Regions from separate parts of the Homo sapiens genome. Here region 2 is linked to region 1. The links are contacts of gene promoters, found by promoter capture Hi-C in human tissues and cell types (Jung and others, 2019). All regions are on one chromosome and are shown on one strand. The core of a region is centred on a gene start or on the middle of the fragment in contact, and the rest is flanking DNA. Distances in the headings are between cores, read along the strand shown.

What was found. The method cuts DNA at HindIII sites, captures the fragments that hold promoters and counts their contacts. A contact is called where the count stands out against the background at its distance.
Region 2: the fragment with the promoter of PIAS4 here is called in contact with the fragment with the promoter of PIP5K1C in region 1 in 1 of the 25 tissues and cell types used here (lymphoblastoid cells).

The regions. Positions count from the first base shown.
Region 1 is chr19:3,697,163-3,704,991 of GRCh38, reverse strand. PIP5K1C (phosphatidylinositol-4-phosphate 5-kinase type 1 gamma) reads left to right here and starts at 4,524. Exons shown (of 18, transcript NM_012398.3): 1 at 4,524-4,695. The coding sequence starts at 4,602. RefSeq lists silencers at 4,276-4,765, 4,846-4,985 and an enhancer at 4,684-5,467. The HindIII fragment of the contact is 9,003 bases long and covers 1,287-7,829 here.
Region 2 is chr19:4,002,906-4,010,734 of GRCh38, reverse strand. PIAS4 (protein inhibitor of activated STAT 4) reads right to left here and starts at 2,999. Exons shown (of 11, transcript NM_015897.4): 1 at 2,948-2,999. The coding sequence starts at 2,974. RefSeq lists silencers at 2,846-2,905, 2,936-3,235 and enhancers at 2,191-3,081, 3,436-3,565, 3,082-3,973. The HindIII fragment of the contact is 22,791 bases long and covers 1-7,829 here.

The sequences.
Region 1 (7,829 bases), core at 3,275-5,774:
ACCAGGTCTCGCTCTGTTGCCCAGGCTGGACTGTAGTGGTGTGATCATAGCTCACTGCAGCTTCAAACTTCTGGGCTCAAGCGATCCTCCCACCTCAGCCTCCCAAGTAGCTGGGACTACAGGTGTGCACCACCATGCCAGGCTATTTTTGTTTTTTTGAGAGGAGTTTCGCTCTTGCTGCCCAGGCTGGAGCGCAATGGCGAGATCTTGACTCACTGCAACCTCTGCCTCCCGGGTTCAAGCAATTCTCCTGCCTCAGCCTCCTAAGTAGCTGGGATTACAGGCATGCGCCACCATGCCCGACTAATTTTTGTATTTTTAGTAGAGACAGGGTTTCTCCGTGATGGTCAGGCTGGTCTCGAACTCCTGACCTCAGGCGATCCACCTGCCTCAACCTCCCAAAGTGCTGGGATTACAGGCGTGAGCCACTGCATCTGGCCACGCCAGACTAATTTTTAATTTGTTTTGTAGAGATGGGATCTTGCTATGTTGCCCAGGCTGGTCTTGAACTCCTGGGCTAAAGTGATTCTCCTGCCTCAGCCTCAATCCCAAAGCACTGGGATTACAGGCATGAACCACTGCACCTGGCTTTGGAACCTGCATTTCTAACAAGCTCCCAGGGTGAGGCTGATGTGGCTGGCCCAGGGACCACACCTTGAGAGCCAGTGGTCTAAATCTTTTTTCAAAACAGATTCTGGGTGAATCAGGAGCTCTGTCCATGACCTGCGTCCAAAGAACTCTTCCTGGAGCCTTAAAATGGTCAAGGCCGCCTGCAGTGGCTGACGCCTGTAATCCTCACACTTTGGGAGGCCGAGGTGGGCAGATCACCTGACACCAGCCTGGCCAACACAGTGAAATCCCATTTCTACTGAAATTACAAAAATTAGCCAGGTATGGTAGCACACACCTGTGGTCTCAGCTACTTGGGAGGCTGAGGTGGGAGGATCGCTTGAACCTGGGAGGCAGAGGCTGCAGTAAGCCGAGATCACGCCACTGCACTCCAGCCTGGGTAACAGAGCAAGACTCATCTCAAAAAAGAAAAAACAAAAAATGGTAGTAAAATACGCACAACATACAATTCACAATTTTCACCATTTCTTTTTTTTCGAGTCTTGCTCTGTTGCCCAGGCTGGAGTGCAGTGGTGCCATGTTGGCTCACTGCAACCTCTGCCTCTCAGGTTCAAGTGATTCTCCTGCCTCAGCCTCCCGAGTAGCTGGGATTATAGGCCTGTGCCACTATGCCCAGCTAATTTTTTGGTATTTTTAGTAGAGACAGGGTTTCACCACATTGACCAGGCTGGTCTTGAACTCCTGACCTTAGGTGATCTGCCAGCCTCGGCCTCCCAAAGTGCTGGGATGACAGGCGTGAGCCACCGCACCCGGCCCATTTTCACCATTTCTTTCTTCTTCTTCTTCTTCTTTTTTTTTTTTTTTTTTTTTTGGAGACAGAGTCTTGCTCTGTCGCCCAGGCTGGAGTGCAGTGGTGCCATGTTGGCTCACTGCAACCTCTGCCTTTCGGGTTCAAGTGATTCTCCTGCCTCAGCCTCCCGAGTAGCTGGGATTACAGGCACGCGCCACCACGCCTGGCTAATTTTGTATTTTTAGTAGAGACGGGGTTTCTCCATGTTAGTCAGGCTGGTCTTGAACTCCCGACCTCAGGTAATCCGCCCACCTCGGCCTCCCAAAGTGCTGGGATTGCAGGTGTGAGCCCCCGCGCCCGGCCCATTTTCACCATGTCTAAGAGCACAGCTCCGTGGCCTTAAGCACATTCCCATGGCTGTGCAAACATCACCGCCATCATCTCCAGAATGTTCTCATCTTCTGAGACTGGAAGTCTGCCCCTGTGAAACACTCACTCCTCGTCTCCCCCCAAGCCCCTGGCACCCCCCATCCTACTTTCTGTCTCTGTGAATGTGACAACTCTAGGGACCTCCTAGGAGTGGAACCACACAGAATTTGTCTTTTTGTTTTTTTTGTTTGTTTTTTTTTTTTGCGGGGACAGACGGGGTCTTTCTCTGTTGCCCAGGCCAGAGTGCAGTGGTGCGATCATAGCTCACTGCAGCCTTGAGTTCCCGGGCTCAAGCAGTCCTCCCACCTTAGCCTACTAAGTAGCTGGCTAATTAAAAAACAATTTTTTTTGTAAAGATGAGGGGTCTCACTACACCTAGCTAATTAAAAAAATTTTTTTTGTAGAGATGAGAGGGCTCACTATGTTACCCAGGCTGGTCTAGAACTCCTGAGCTCAAGTAATCCTCCTGCCTTGGCCTCCCAAAGTGCTGGAATTACAGGCGGGAGCCTCTGTGCCCACCCCAAACATTATTTATGTGCATAGGTAATATAATCATTATGATTTACATTTATGTAAATAATATAAACGTTATTACTTAAATTAACATAAACAACATAAGCCTTATTATGTGCTTATATAAAGAACATAAATATGGCCGGGCGCAGTGGCTCACACCTGTAATCCCAGCACTTTGGGAAGCTGAGGCGGGAAGATCACGAGGTCAGGCGTTCAAGACCAGCCTGGCCAACATGGCGAAACCTCATCTCTACTAAAAATACAAAAATTAGCCGGGCGTGGTGGCACGTACCTGTAGTCCTAGTTACTTGGGAGGGTGAGGCAGGAGAATCACTTGAACCCTGGAGGCAGAGGTTGCAGTGAGCTCAGATCGCCCCCCTGCACTCCAGCCTGGGCAACAACAGCAAGACTCCATCTCAAAAAAAAAAAAGAAGGATATAAATATTGCTACTTACATTTGCATAAATATATATAATTTATTATGTATTTCTATAATTATATGTTTCTTATAATAGCAAACTGTATTATTATTGATAAAATAATATAAAGAAAACAATAACATATCTATACTTACGTAATACAAACGATGGAATATAAATATTATTTGCAATATGATAATAAACAGGTAGTTAATTGCAAATGTTATTGATATGTATTGCGTAGATCAATGTTAATAACATGTATTGTGTAGATCTATATATATATATATTTTTTTTTGATATGGAGTCTCGCTCTGTTGCCCAGGCTGGAGTGCAGTGACACGATCTCAGCTCACTGCAAGCTCTGCCTCCCAGGTTCACCCTATTCTCCTGCCTTAGCCTCCCAAGTAGCTGGGACTACAGGCGCCCGCCACCACGCCTGGCTAATTTTTTGTATTTTTAGTAGAGACGGGGTTTCACCATGTTAACCAGGATGGTCTCAATCTCCTGACCTCGTGATCCGCCCGCCTCGGCCTCCCAAAGTCTTGGGATTACAGGCATGAGCCACCGCGCCCGGCCCTGTGTAGATCAATATTATTTACATGTACTGTGTATATCACTGTTATTGGTATATTTTGTGCATATCAATGTTATTGACATGTAGTGTGTATATCAATGTTATTGACATGTAGTGTGTACATTAATGTTATTGGCATGTAGTGTGTATATCAATGTTATTGGCATGTAGTGTGTATATCCATGTTATTGGCATGTAGTGTGTATATCAATGTTATTGACATGTAGTGTGTGTATCAATGTTAGTTACATGTATTGTGTAGATCAATGTTATTGGTATTCATTGTGTATAGCAATGTGATTGGCATGTATTGCATATAGCAATGCTATTTGTATGTTTTATGTAGATCCATGTCAATGATATAGTATAGATTCATGTTATTGGCATGTATTGTGTATATCCATGTTATTGGCATGTATTGTGCATATCCGTGTTATTGGCATGTATTGTGTATATCCATGTTATTGGCATGCATTGGGTAACTCCATGTTATTGGCATGTGCTGTGTAGGTCCATGTGTGGTTTTTTTTGGGACAGAGTCTCACTCTGTGGCCCAGGCTGGAGGGCAATGGTGCGATCTCAGCTCACTGCAACCTCTCCCTCCTGGGTTCCAGCGATTCTCCTGCCTCAGCCTCCCGAGTAGCCGCGATTACAGGCATGTGCCACCACGCCCAGCTATTTTTTGTATTTTTAGTAGAGACAGGATTTCACCATGTTGGTCAGGATGGTCTTGAACTCCTGACCTCAGGTGATCCGCCCTCTTCGGCCTCCCAAAGTGCCGGGAATATAGGCGTGAGTCACCGCGCCCGGCCAGATCCATGTTATTGTCATGCGCTGTGCAGGTCCCTGTTATTGGCATGTGCTGTTTAGATCCATGTTATTGGCATGTGCTGTGTACATCCATATTATTGGCACGTGCTGTATAGATCCATATTATTGTCATGTGTTGTGTAGATCCATGTTATTGGTATGTGTTGTGCACAGCAATGTTATTGATACGTATCGTGCCTGTCAATCTTACTGACCTAATACGATGGAATGGCGAGCCTGGCTCTGTACTCCCACCCCTGGGCGCGAGGGGGCACTCGAGGCGCTCCTGGCTGCGGGTCGCAAGCAGGCCCCGCCCCCGAGCCCCGATTGGCCGCGCGCCGTCCGCGGCGTCGCACGCACGCAGGCCCCGCCCCGTCCGCCCCGCGCCGGCCCGGCGCGCCCTCCCTTGGCCGGCGGCGCTTGTTGTTCGGCGGCGGCGGTCGCAGCTCGGGTCCCCCTCGGGCGCCCCCGCCGCCGTCCGCGCGCGGCCATGGAGCTGGAGGTACCGGACGAGGCGGAGAGCGCTGAGGCGGGGGCCGTGCCCTCGGAGGCGGCGTGGGCGGCAGAGAGCGGGGCGGCGGCAGGTAACGGCCCGGCCTCCCGGGGCTGCGGCCCGCTGGGCTCGTCCGAGCGCCGAGAGTCGCGGGGCTGCGGGGCCGGGGCGGGGGCTGCACGGTCGCTGCGGGGGCGCCGCCGGTTCCAGGAGCCTGGGGCGGGGCAGTCCCCTGGAGCCGCGGGGAGGACGGGGCTGAAGCCGCGCCGGGAAGCGGGAGGCCTGCGAGGGGCTACCTCCCACCGCTCCCGGGCCGGGGGCGACTCGGCGTGGGCGCCGCTGGGGATCCCCGTTCTGCCTGACCCGCTCCCAGGGGCTGCCCGTCGTGTGAGTGGCGGCTGCTTGGGTGGAGGCGGGGGTCTCTGAGGCCGTGCGTGCCCACCTCCTGATGTCACCTCCCTTTCTGTAAGTCCCCAGACCTGAGTCCGGGTGCGCGACCTTTCCTCACCTTCCTGGGCCTCAGTTTACCTCCCTGCTAAAATGAGGGGAGGAAAAGGGTTACATCTCAAGATGCCTCCACCGCCCCGGCTGTGCACACAGGGTGCCCTGTCGCCCCCTTTTCCTCTCCCCGAGCCTTCCCCCAGGACACACTGGTGGGGCTGCGGGCTGGGCGGGGGGCACGGCTGTCTCATGCCCCCTTTAGCTGCTTCCTGGACCTCCAGCCGGGTAGGTGGCGGCAGCTGGGCCTTCCCTTCTGTGGGGACGGTGTGCAGAGCCCAGAGGAAGGGAACAGTTCCTTCTCAGTCGAGGTCACAAGCTCCCAAATCGGAAGTTTCCGGATTCACAAAATCCTCTGCTCCTCCCAGGCAGCCAGCAGCAGCGTCTCTGTAGACACCCACACGGGCATCCGTCCTCCTTCTCCCCCCAGGCCTCCCGAAGCTTCCTTGGTTGGCAGGCGGGCAAGCGGGCGGGCGGGCGATGCGTGCTGCCTGGGAGTTGGGGAGATGTCTGGAGAGAGAGAGAGTGTGGAAGTCATCAAGTCCCCCCCCCACCCCCCGCCTTGAAAGACACTCGTGGCTTCCCTCCCGGCGGCCATCTGGAACCGCTTGGTAGGTGACCCGGTTCCTTCCCCAGAGCCAGTGGCCTCGCCCCTTTCTTTGCGGGCAGCCGGTGTCCTGGCCTGGCCAGCAAGAGACATGGTGGAGGAACCCAGGCAGGGCACCAGGCCCCAGCCCGGGTTCCTTTCTTGGGCCCCCCAACTTCCGCTGTCAGCCCTCTGACCCCAGCTGGTCAGAGACAAAGTAGCCCAGGACTCGCTGACCAAAAGAAAACCACACCGCGACCATTCATCTTATCAGGGGCTCTGGGAGCACCGGGGACAGATAAAGTTGCCAGCTCCAGACTGAGCATGGTGGTGGGGTGGGAGAGCGGGGGAGTGGGGGGGTGGGGGTGGGGGGCCGGGGAGGGCTGGAAGGTCAGGGTCTGGCATCTCTGCCCATCCCTGAAATCCACAGAAATCTGACCCCAGCTGGCCATATACTGCTTCTGAATGTTTAAAATTCAGAGTTGCCTCACTCCTCCAACGCCATCCCTCCTGATGTTAGCGCTGGTGAGTTTAGGTTGTGCCTGGCTGGGCCACAGAGACGTGAGCACATAAAGGGGCCTGCTTGTTCTTCACCGAGATGGTTTCATGCCTCACTGGGGCTTCTGTGCCTTGGCAGAGGTATTTTGAGTCAGGAAATTAGGGGTGCTGAGCAACGCCCCTGGCTTCTGCCCACTCCATGCCAGGAGCACCTGCCAGTTGTGACAGCCACAAGTGACCCAGACACCGTTCAGTGTCCCCTGGGGGCAGGACGGCCCTGGTGAGAAATGCCACACGTTTATGACTCTGTGAACTGCTTGCTTTTTATCTCTGGTCATCTGGAGTCTCCCCACCCTATGTTGGTATCGGTTTGTAGAGAGGGCGAGCGCCAGGCAGTGGTTAAGGGGGAGCCCCAGAGTTGGTCCCGCCGATGTCCCCCTCCCAGCTCCGCGCTTCAGGTGCTGTGTGGCCGTCACTTCCCCGGGCTTCAGCGTCCCGTCTGTGAAGTGGGGTGATGACCGTGTGTGCTAGGGGCTGAGCCTGGGATGAGTTGGCGCTCGTGCTTGGTGATTGTCGTGCCGGTTGGCCACCCCTTTCCGGCCTCTCCACCATCGGTGCCTCCAGGCCCCTGCTGAGGCCCATGCCCGTGGTTTCTGGAGTCACCGCTCACTGTTAGAAGCGATGGCGACACCTTCCAGAAAGCTCAGCTACAGCGGGAGCCTTGTCCGACAGGGGCCGAGGGAGGCTGCCCGTTTCCCACGGCACTGCCAGCTCCCAGTGTCATCGTCCTTGGCGATTTCGGCTGATCCGATGGGAGGCAAAGCAATGTCTCGTTGGTGTTTAGAATTTGGTTCCTCTAATTGCCTGGGCTCCTGGCTCCCGAGGCGTGGCCTGAATGGCGTCTCCATGGGCCGTGGCCGTGGGGCACGTGGGGGCGGTCTCGGGAAGGCCGGGGCTTGGGATGCGGCTGTGCCCACTGTGTGGGCCGATGGCCTGTGGTGGAGTTTGGTCTGAGCTGTGGCCTGGGCGTGTCTGAGCCTCTCCCAGGCTGTCCTGTCTCTGTGATGCCCCAGAACGGTCAGCTCCATCCCTGCCCCTGCCCCACTCCCACGGCTGATCTGTCTCTGTGATGCCCTGGAAAGGTCAGCTGCATCCCTGCCCCTGCCCCACTTCCACGGCTGATCTGGCAGCAAATGATGGCAGCTTCACCTTCAGAACTGGCCCAGAACCCACTGACTCCTTCCCTGTCCTCTGCCTCTCCCGGGTCCAGCTTGGTCCTCCCGGGTCCAGCTTGGTCCTCCCTGGTCCAGCTCGGTCCTCCCCGGTCCAGCTCGGTCCTCCTCGGTCCAGCTCGGTCCTCCTCCGTACAGCTCGGTCCTCCTCCGTCTGGCTGAGTACTCCCCGGTCCAGCTCAGTCCTCCTCCGTCTGGCTCAGTCCTCCTCTGTCTGGCTCGGTCCTCCCCGGTCCAGCTCGGTCCTCCTCCGTCCGGCCCAGTCCTCCTCCATCCGGCTCGGTCCTCTATCCGGCTTGGTCCTCCTCCATCTGGCTCGGTCCTCCCGGGTCCAGCTCGGTCCTCCCCGGTCCAGCTTAGTCCTCCTCCATCCGGCTCAGTCCTCCCCAGTCCAGCTTGGTCCTCCTCTGT
Region 2 (7,829 bases), core at 1,750-4,249, 310 kb before region 1:
GTGAGGAAACCGAGGCTCACAGAGGGAAGAGGCTGGCCCAGAGCCTCCCTAGTACATGCGTGGGACTGGCATCGGCCCCTCGGCCTCTGGCCTCCCAAGGGTGTTCCCGTCTGCTGCCCGGGGGACCCTCACTCACCAGCACACTGGCTATGGGGACCTGCATGGTCTGCTGGGCCTGAGAGTCAGGGATGCTTTGAAAACAAAAATGCCTCATCTCCCTTGGCCTGACTTCCTACCTTGTGCAGAAAACAAAAAGGCTTGCAGACAAGATGTTTCTTCTGGAAGTGGCCCAAAGCCTTAGCAGGGAGAGACGATGTCATGTGGACACTTCACACTGGCAGACTGGCCGAAGGCAGGTGGGCTGGGGAACCTGCTGACATCCTCGCACCCCGGGAGCCCCTGCCCCACCCAGGCTGGACAGTGGAGCCGCAGCTCCCGCTTCCCGGAGCACACCCCTTAGGTGGCCATATGTTCACGACTCAGATTTCCCAGCAGCTGCCACCTCGGAGGAGCCTGCCCTTGACACTGGAGGGAGTGCGGGGGGGACAAGCATTCAGGAAGAAGCCCCAAATGCCCCAAGATCACTTCCTGCCCTGGCTTCAAGCTGACCTGCTTGCCGTCAGAGCTGTGTTTATAAACAGTGCCAGGCCCCGGCAGCTTCCAGAGTTTCAACTCCAGGCTTGCCTGGAAGTCGCATGGGGAGACATCAGCCGAGACACAGCAGCTGCGCTGAACCTTTCCTCCAGCATAGGCCCCTCAGAGCACCGGGGGTAGCTCAGGAAGGCGCCTCTCTCCAGGAAAGCGGAGATCTGTGCGAAACGCTGTGGACTATTTCAGGGAGCTCACAGACACCCCTGCCCCAAACCCGCCTGCAGGCCTCAAGCTGAGAGTCTCAGATTTCAAAGTTCACCAACAAACCCCCAACATTCGCCCCTCCGAGCAGTCTGTGATGCACCCCAAAAGACAGAATCTGCAGCCATGAATATGACAGGCTGGGGAAGGCCCCTGTAAAGAAGGGGATGTTTCAATGACATTTAAGGTACTTGGAGAGGTAGCAACAGACTCAAGGAGAAAGAAGGTTCCCCAGGGTCCAGGCCCCCTTGAATGGAGGCTCACGGTTTAGAGAACCTGAAAGAAGGGTCAACTTGATTTAATTGGGGTGGGGGGGGGCCCAGCCACCAGAGGGTTAAGGAAAGTTCATCAGATCATATTTCAAGGCCTGGATGGTACAAAAGAGTGCAGACCCTGCCCTCAGCCAGGGTGGGGGTTGGGGTCCAGGGTCACAGCTCCAAGCCCCGAAACGGGAGGTTACATTTCAGGACTCCAGGACACTTCAAGCCCAGAGCCTGCCACTTTGGGTTTACAGAGTTCAGGCCTCCACATCTCCAGGGCGAGTCTCCACTTTTCAAAACTCTAGAGAGGAGCAGAAGTGTGCGCAGGGGTGTAGGGTTGGGAGGCGAAGAGAGGTATATGCTATAATCACAGAGCCCTGAGTGCTGTGTTTTCAGATCCCAGGGGGTAATGTGAGAGGACCGAGAAGAAGATACGTACAGGTCAGGACCGTGGGGAGGGAAGATGTGAAAGGGGATGGGGGAGGGAGAGGTCCCCTAACCTCCCCGGAAGCCGTGGCCTTGCGGGCACTTCTAAGGGTTTTAGACCCTCAGCTCTAGGTAGGCACCTACAAGAAGGTACATCCCCTGGAATGGGGATACTCTGAGCTCAATCCCAGGATGATTAAAAGTGGTTCCAAGCTAGGAGATGGTATCTATGGGACATGGGACCTGGACAGGACCCAAAGTATAATAGAGCAGCAGCAACAGTTGTTCTAAAGAGGCCAGCCTTGGACCCAGTGGGGACCCTCCAGAGATCAACAAAAGAGAATAGGCAGAAAGAGAGGGGACCTTAGAAACCAAAGTTGGGGTGCATAAAAGTTCTGGGGGCTGTGTAGGGGGAGGGTGGGTGTCTGACCTAAGAAGTAGACTCGCTCAAGAGCAGAAAATAGGAGAAGCAGCCAAGGTTTGAGGACAGTATCTGATGCTGCACAGGTGAGGTTTAGAGCCCCCTGAAGCAGAATCAGTAGCCTCAGATTCTGTCCCGAGAGGAACGAGGTAGGACCAAAGCACAGTCCAGGATTTAAGATTAAAAAAAGGAGAATAAAGAAGGTCTGTGACCAAGAAGAGTGGTCCGAACTCCATCCTATGGGGAGGGAAAGGGAGGGCCCAGCCTTCCCCCAAGCGCCCACTCCGGCGTGTGAGAGACGGTGTCGGGAAGGGGGCGGGGTTCTGGGACCAATGCAGGAGCTGAAGAGGGGCTCAAGACCGAGCCTGAACTCCAGACCCCAAGAGGACGTGCCGTGTCTTGGGGGTGGTCTCAGGGCCCTGACTCCTCCACCTGGACGGTGGCAGGACACTATCCAGGACTCGGGGGACCCTTCCGAGCAGGAGACTCGCAAACCCCAGCCTGGCCTGTTGGGCGGGGACGAGACCCAGATAGCAGTCCTGGGAGCCCTGTGGGCGGGGAGGCGCAGACACTCCCCCCAACACACCAGCCAAAAAGCAAGGACCCCGGCTCGGAACCAAGAGGGCAACGAGTAGCTCAACACGTCCCGCATCCCGGCGGGACGGTGCCTCAACCGGGAGGCGCGGCCCTGGCCTGGCGCTCAGGGACCGGGACCCTAAGGGCTCGGGCTGGGTGGGGGGACCCTGCCTGAAGCCGGGGGAGCGACCCCCGGCGCGAAGACCTGGGTGAGGCAGGAGGGCCCCGCCCCCGGCCTCCCCGCCCCCCGCCCTCACCCTGAGACCGGGGGTCGGGGTCTGGGGGCCGGGACGGCGAGCCGCGGGCCGGCCGCGCTGTGGGGCCCCGGACAGAAGGCGCAGACCTCGACCTGCGGCCCGGCCCCCGCCCTCTCGCCCACTTGCCCCGGCCGGCGCCGCCACCGCTCACTCACTTTGGCCTCCACCAGCTCCGCCGCCATCTTGGTCACCAGCGTCCCCCGCGCCGGGAGCCCCCAGCCGTCGCGTCACGTGACCGCTCACCACTCGCGGGCGGGGCCGCCGCCCGGGCCAATTAGCACCCGCGCGCGCTCCTCCCGCCGCCGGTGCGCGCTGCTGCCTCCTGCGCAGGCGCGCGCGGCCACCGCCCGGGCCTCCGGCCAATCAGGTCCGTCCTACACCAGCGCCCCCCCCCCCGCTCGCGGCGACCACGCCTACCCCGGCGGCGCCTGACTCCTTAAAGTGGTACTAGCCCTGCGCAGGTGGGGACGGGTGCTCGGTTTCCTCTAGGGAGGGAAGGCGAGAGGGGGCGGTGGCAGCGACAACAATGCAGCTAGGTGCCGTGGCTTCCTGCGCGCGGCGGCCGCCAGGTGCGTCTCCAGACTCCCGGCGGCGTCGGGCAGGGGATGGTTGCTCCGCCGCAACGGCCGCCAGTGCGTACAGTGAGGCGCCTTGCAGCGCAGCGCGGTGCAGGCTCCACGGGCCCAGACACCCCGCGCGCTGCACATCCGGGTCCTGGTGTGCAGATGGGGCGTGGGCTCGGCAACCAGCTGGCTGGGGGCGCCCGGCGGAGAAAAGCGGGACCCCTGCTCCCAAATTCCTTGGAGATCGTACAGCCCTCACCTCTTTGCAGGCGCCCCCCCCATCCTGCCTCCCCACCCATGGGAAACCTTGGATCTGCACCAGTTGGGACCTCTTCTCCAAAGCGCTCCTTGGCTTTGGAGCTAAGTGGCTTCGTGCCCGTAGAAGTGGATTTCAAACTTCAATAATCAAGTATTTTAGTGCAATTTATTTTTTATTTTTATTTTTGTAGAGACGAGGATCTCATTATGTTATCCAGGGTGGTCTCGAATGTCTGGGCTTAAATGATCCTTCTGTCTGGGCCTCCCACAGTGCTGGGATTACAGGCGCGAGTCACCACACCTGGCTAGTCCAACACTTTAAACATAAAAAAATCAGTGCAAAAGAGTCCATGATGGATGAAATACCAAATTGTTATTTATTTATTTATTTTCGAGACGGAGTTTTACTCTTGTTGCCCAGGCTGGAGTGCAATGGCGCGATCTCAGCTCACTGCAACCTCCATCTCCCGGGTTCAAGGGATTCTCCTGCCTCAGCCTCCCAAGTAGGTGGGATTACAGGCGACTGCCACCACGCCCAGCTAATTTTTTTTTTGGCCAGGCTTTTCTGCAACCCCTGACCTCAAGTGATCTGCCCGCTTCAACCTCCCAAAGTACTAGGATTACAGGCATGAGCCATCATGCCCAGCCTTTTTTTTTTTTTTTTTTGAGAGCCTTGCTGTGTTGCCCAGGCTGGAGTGCAATGGAGCGATCTCCACTCACTGCAACCTCTGCCTCCTGGGTTCAAGCGATTCCCCTGCCTCAGCCTCCCGAGTAGCTGGGATTACAGGTATGCACCACCATACCCAGCTAATTTTTTTTTTTTTAGACGGAGTCTTGCTTTGTCACCAGGCTGGAGTGCAGTGGCGCCAGGCTGGAGTGCAGTGGCGCAATTTCGGCTCAGTGCATCCTCTGCCTCCCGGGTTCAAGTGATTCTCCTGCCTCAGCCTCCCGAGTAGCTGGGACTACAGGTGGGCACCACCACGCTCAGCTGATTTTTGTATTTTTAGTAGAGATGGAGTTTCACTGTGTTGGTCAGGTTGGTCTATGAACTCCTGACCTCAGGTGATCCACCGGCCTCGGCCTCGCAAAGTGCTGGGATCATGGGTGTTAGCCACCGCACCCGGCCTGAAATACCAAAATTTTAAGTAAAGAGCCAGACGTAGGAGTGTGCGCCTGTGGTCCCAGCTACTTAGGAGGCTGAGGCAGGAGGATCGCTTGAGCCCAGGAGTTGGAGGCTGCAGTGAGCTTTGATCATGCCACTACACTCCAGCCTGGGCGACAAAATTATAGGAGGCGGTTGTTTTAGACTAAACTCTTGTGCTAGGCACCAAGACACAGGAATAAACAAAATGCAGCTAGTCACACTCAGATTCTAAGTCACAATGACGAAGCTAAGTTGTTATCTGACCTTTGGGAAAACCAGGAGGGAGCCCTATCAGCCCATTTTCTCTTTTATTTTATTTTCTCTCTTTCTTTCTCTCTCTCTCTCTCTCTCTCTCTCCCTTTCTTTCCAGGAGGAGTCTCACATTTGTCGCCTAGGCTGGAATGCAATGGCGCAATCTCGGCTCACTGCAACCTCTGCCTTCCAGGTTCAAGCGATTCTCCTGCCTCAGCCTCCTGAGTAGCTGGAATTACAGGTGCCCGCCACCACACCCGGCTAATTTTTTTGTATTTTTAGTAGAGACGGGGTTTCGCCATGTTGGCCAGACTAGTCGAGAACTACTGACCTTAGATGATCCGGCCAACCAATTTTCCAAACAGGCCAGTTTCAGCCTTCAGTGGCCAATGTCCTAAAATTCCCTCTGCTTAATTTCTTTAATCCTTACACAAAAAAACTAGCCTGGCCGGGTGTGGTGGCTCACGCCTGTAATCCCAGCACTTTGGGAGGCCAGGGCGGGTGGATCACGAGGTCAGGAGATCGAGACCACCCTGGCTAACACGGTGAAACCCCGTCTCTACTAAAAATACAAAAAATTAGCCGGGCTTGGTGGCGGGCGCCTCTAGTCCCAGCTACTTGGGAGGCTGAGGCAGGAGAATGGCATGAACACGGAAGTCGGAGCTTGCAGTGAGCCGAGATCGCGCCACTGCACTCCAGCCTAGGCGACAGAGGGAGACTCCGTCTCAAAAAAAAAAAAAAAAAAAAAAACTAGCCTGAAACAACCTGATGGTAACACTAATGAGTTAACACATTCTTTGCTGTTGGGTTTTTGTTGTTGTTGTTGCTGTTGGTTTTGAGATAGGTTTCTGTCTCCCAGGTTGTTGTGCAGTGGCTCAGTCATGGCTCACTACAGCCTCAACCGCCCGGGCTCAGGTGATCTTCCCACCTCAGCCTCCTGAGTAGCTGGGACTACAGGTGCACACCACCACGCCTGGCTAATTCTTGTATTTTTTGTCGAGATGGGGTTTTGCCAAGTTGCCCAGGCTGCTCTCAAACTTCCGAGTTCGGGGATCCTCCCAAAGTGCTGGGATTACAGACATGAGCCACCCCGCCCAGCCTGTTCTTTGATTTTGCTCTCTACAACCCCTCTCTTCCTGTAGAGCCAACCTCCTCTGCCCAACTGATTGGAACAGTTATCCTATTTTATGGAATGAAGTGTAGCAAATTGCAATGAAGCCGGTTAAGGTCCTTAGATTTGTTGAAATGTTGTCCATTGACAGCAAAACCCCAGCTCTGCCATTGCACGTATGAGTCTTACCTTCATTCCGGCCCTGCTGATTCTGCGGGGGATTGGGTTTTTTTGTTTTTGTTTTGTTTTGTTTTGTTTTAGACAGGGTCTTGCTCTGTCACCCAGGCTGGAGTGTGGTGGTGCCAATCTCGACTCACCGCAACCTCGGCCTCTCAGGTTCAACTGATTCTTGTGCTTCAGCCTCCCGAATAGCTGGGATTACAGGTGTGTGCCACCATACCTGGCTCATTTTTGTAATTTTATTTAATTTATTAATTTTCTTGAGACAGGGTCTCTCTCTGTCACTCAGGCTGGAGTGCAGTGGTGGGATCTTGGCTCACTTCAACCTCCACCTATCAGGATCAAGTGATTCTCCTGCCTCAGCCTCCCGGGCAGTGGGGACTACAGGTGCACATCATCACACCGGCTAATTTTTGGTATTTTTAGTAGAGACGAGGTTTGACCGTGTTGGCCAGGCTGGTCTCGAACTCCTGACCTTAAGGGATCTGCCAGCCTCAGCCTCCCAAAGTGCTGGGATTACAGGTGTGAGCCACCACACCTGGCCAGGTTTTGTTTTTAAGTATAATTTGTATTTGTTTTGGTGAAGATTCAGATTCACAAGAAGTTGCAAAAATAGTACAGAGAGATTTGTGCACCTTTCTCCCAGCTTTCCCCAGTGATAGTATTTTTATAACTGGCTGGGCTCCATGGCTCACACCTGTAATCCCTGCACTTTGGGAGGCCAAGGCGGGCGGGTCAACTGAGGTCAGGAGTTTGAGACCAGCCTGGCCAACATGGTGAAACTCCTGTCTCTACTAAAAATACAAAAATTAGCTGGGCATGGTGGCGGGAGCCTGTAAGCTCAGCTACTCAGGAGGCTGAGGCAGGAGAATCGCTTGACCCCAGGAGACAGAGGTTGCAATGAGCCGAGATTGTGCCATCACACTCCAGCCCAGACAACAAGAGCAACGCTCCATGTAAAACAAACAAACAAACAAAAAGCTTGAACCCAGGAGGCGGAGGTTGCAGTTAACTGAGATTGCGCCATTGCACTCCAGCCTGGGTGACAGAGCGAGACTCCATCTCAAAAAAAAAAAAAAAAAAAAGATTCAAAAAAAGTTTTACATAGCCATGTTATGTTGTCAAAACCTGGGCGTTGATGTTAGTATAATGGAATCAACTCGAGTGCAGACATTATTTCGATTGCACCCGTTTTTACATGTACCTTCCTCTGTGTGTGTTTGGTTCTATTATTTATTATTATTATTTTTTGAGACAGAGTCTCTATTGCCGAGTTTGGAGTGCAGTGGCGCGATCTCAGCTCACTACAACCTCCGCTTCCCAGGTTCAAGCAATTCTCGTGCCTCAGCCTCCTGAGTAGCTGCGATTACAGGCGGGCGCCACCACACTCAGCTAATTTTGGTATTTTTAGTAGAGACGGGGTGTCGCCATGTTGCCCAGGCTGGTCTTGAACTCCTGACCTTAAATGATCCACCTGCCTCAATCTCCCAAAAGTGCTGAGATTACAGGCATGAGACAGCGTGCTTGGC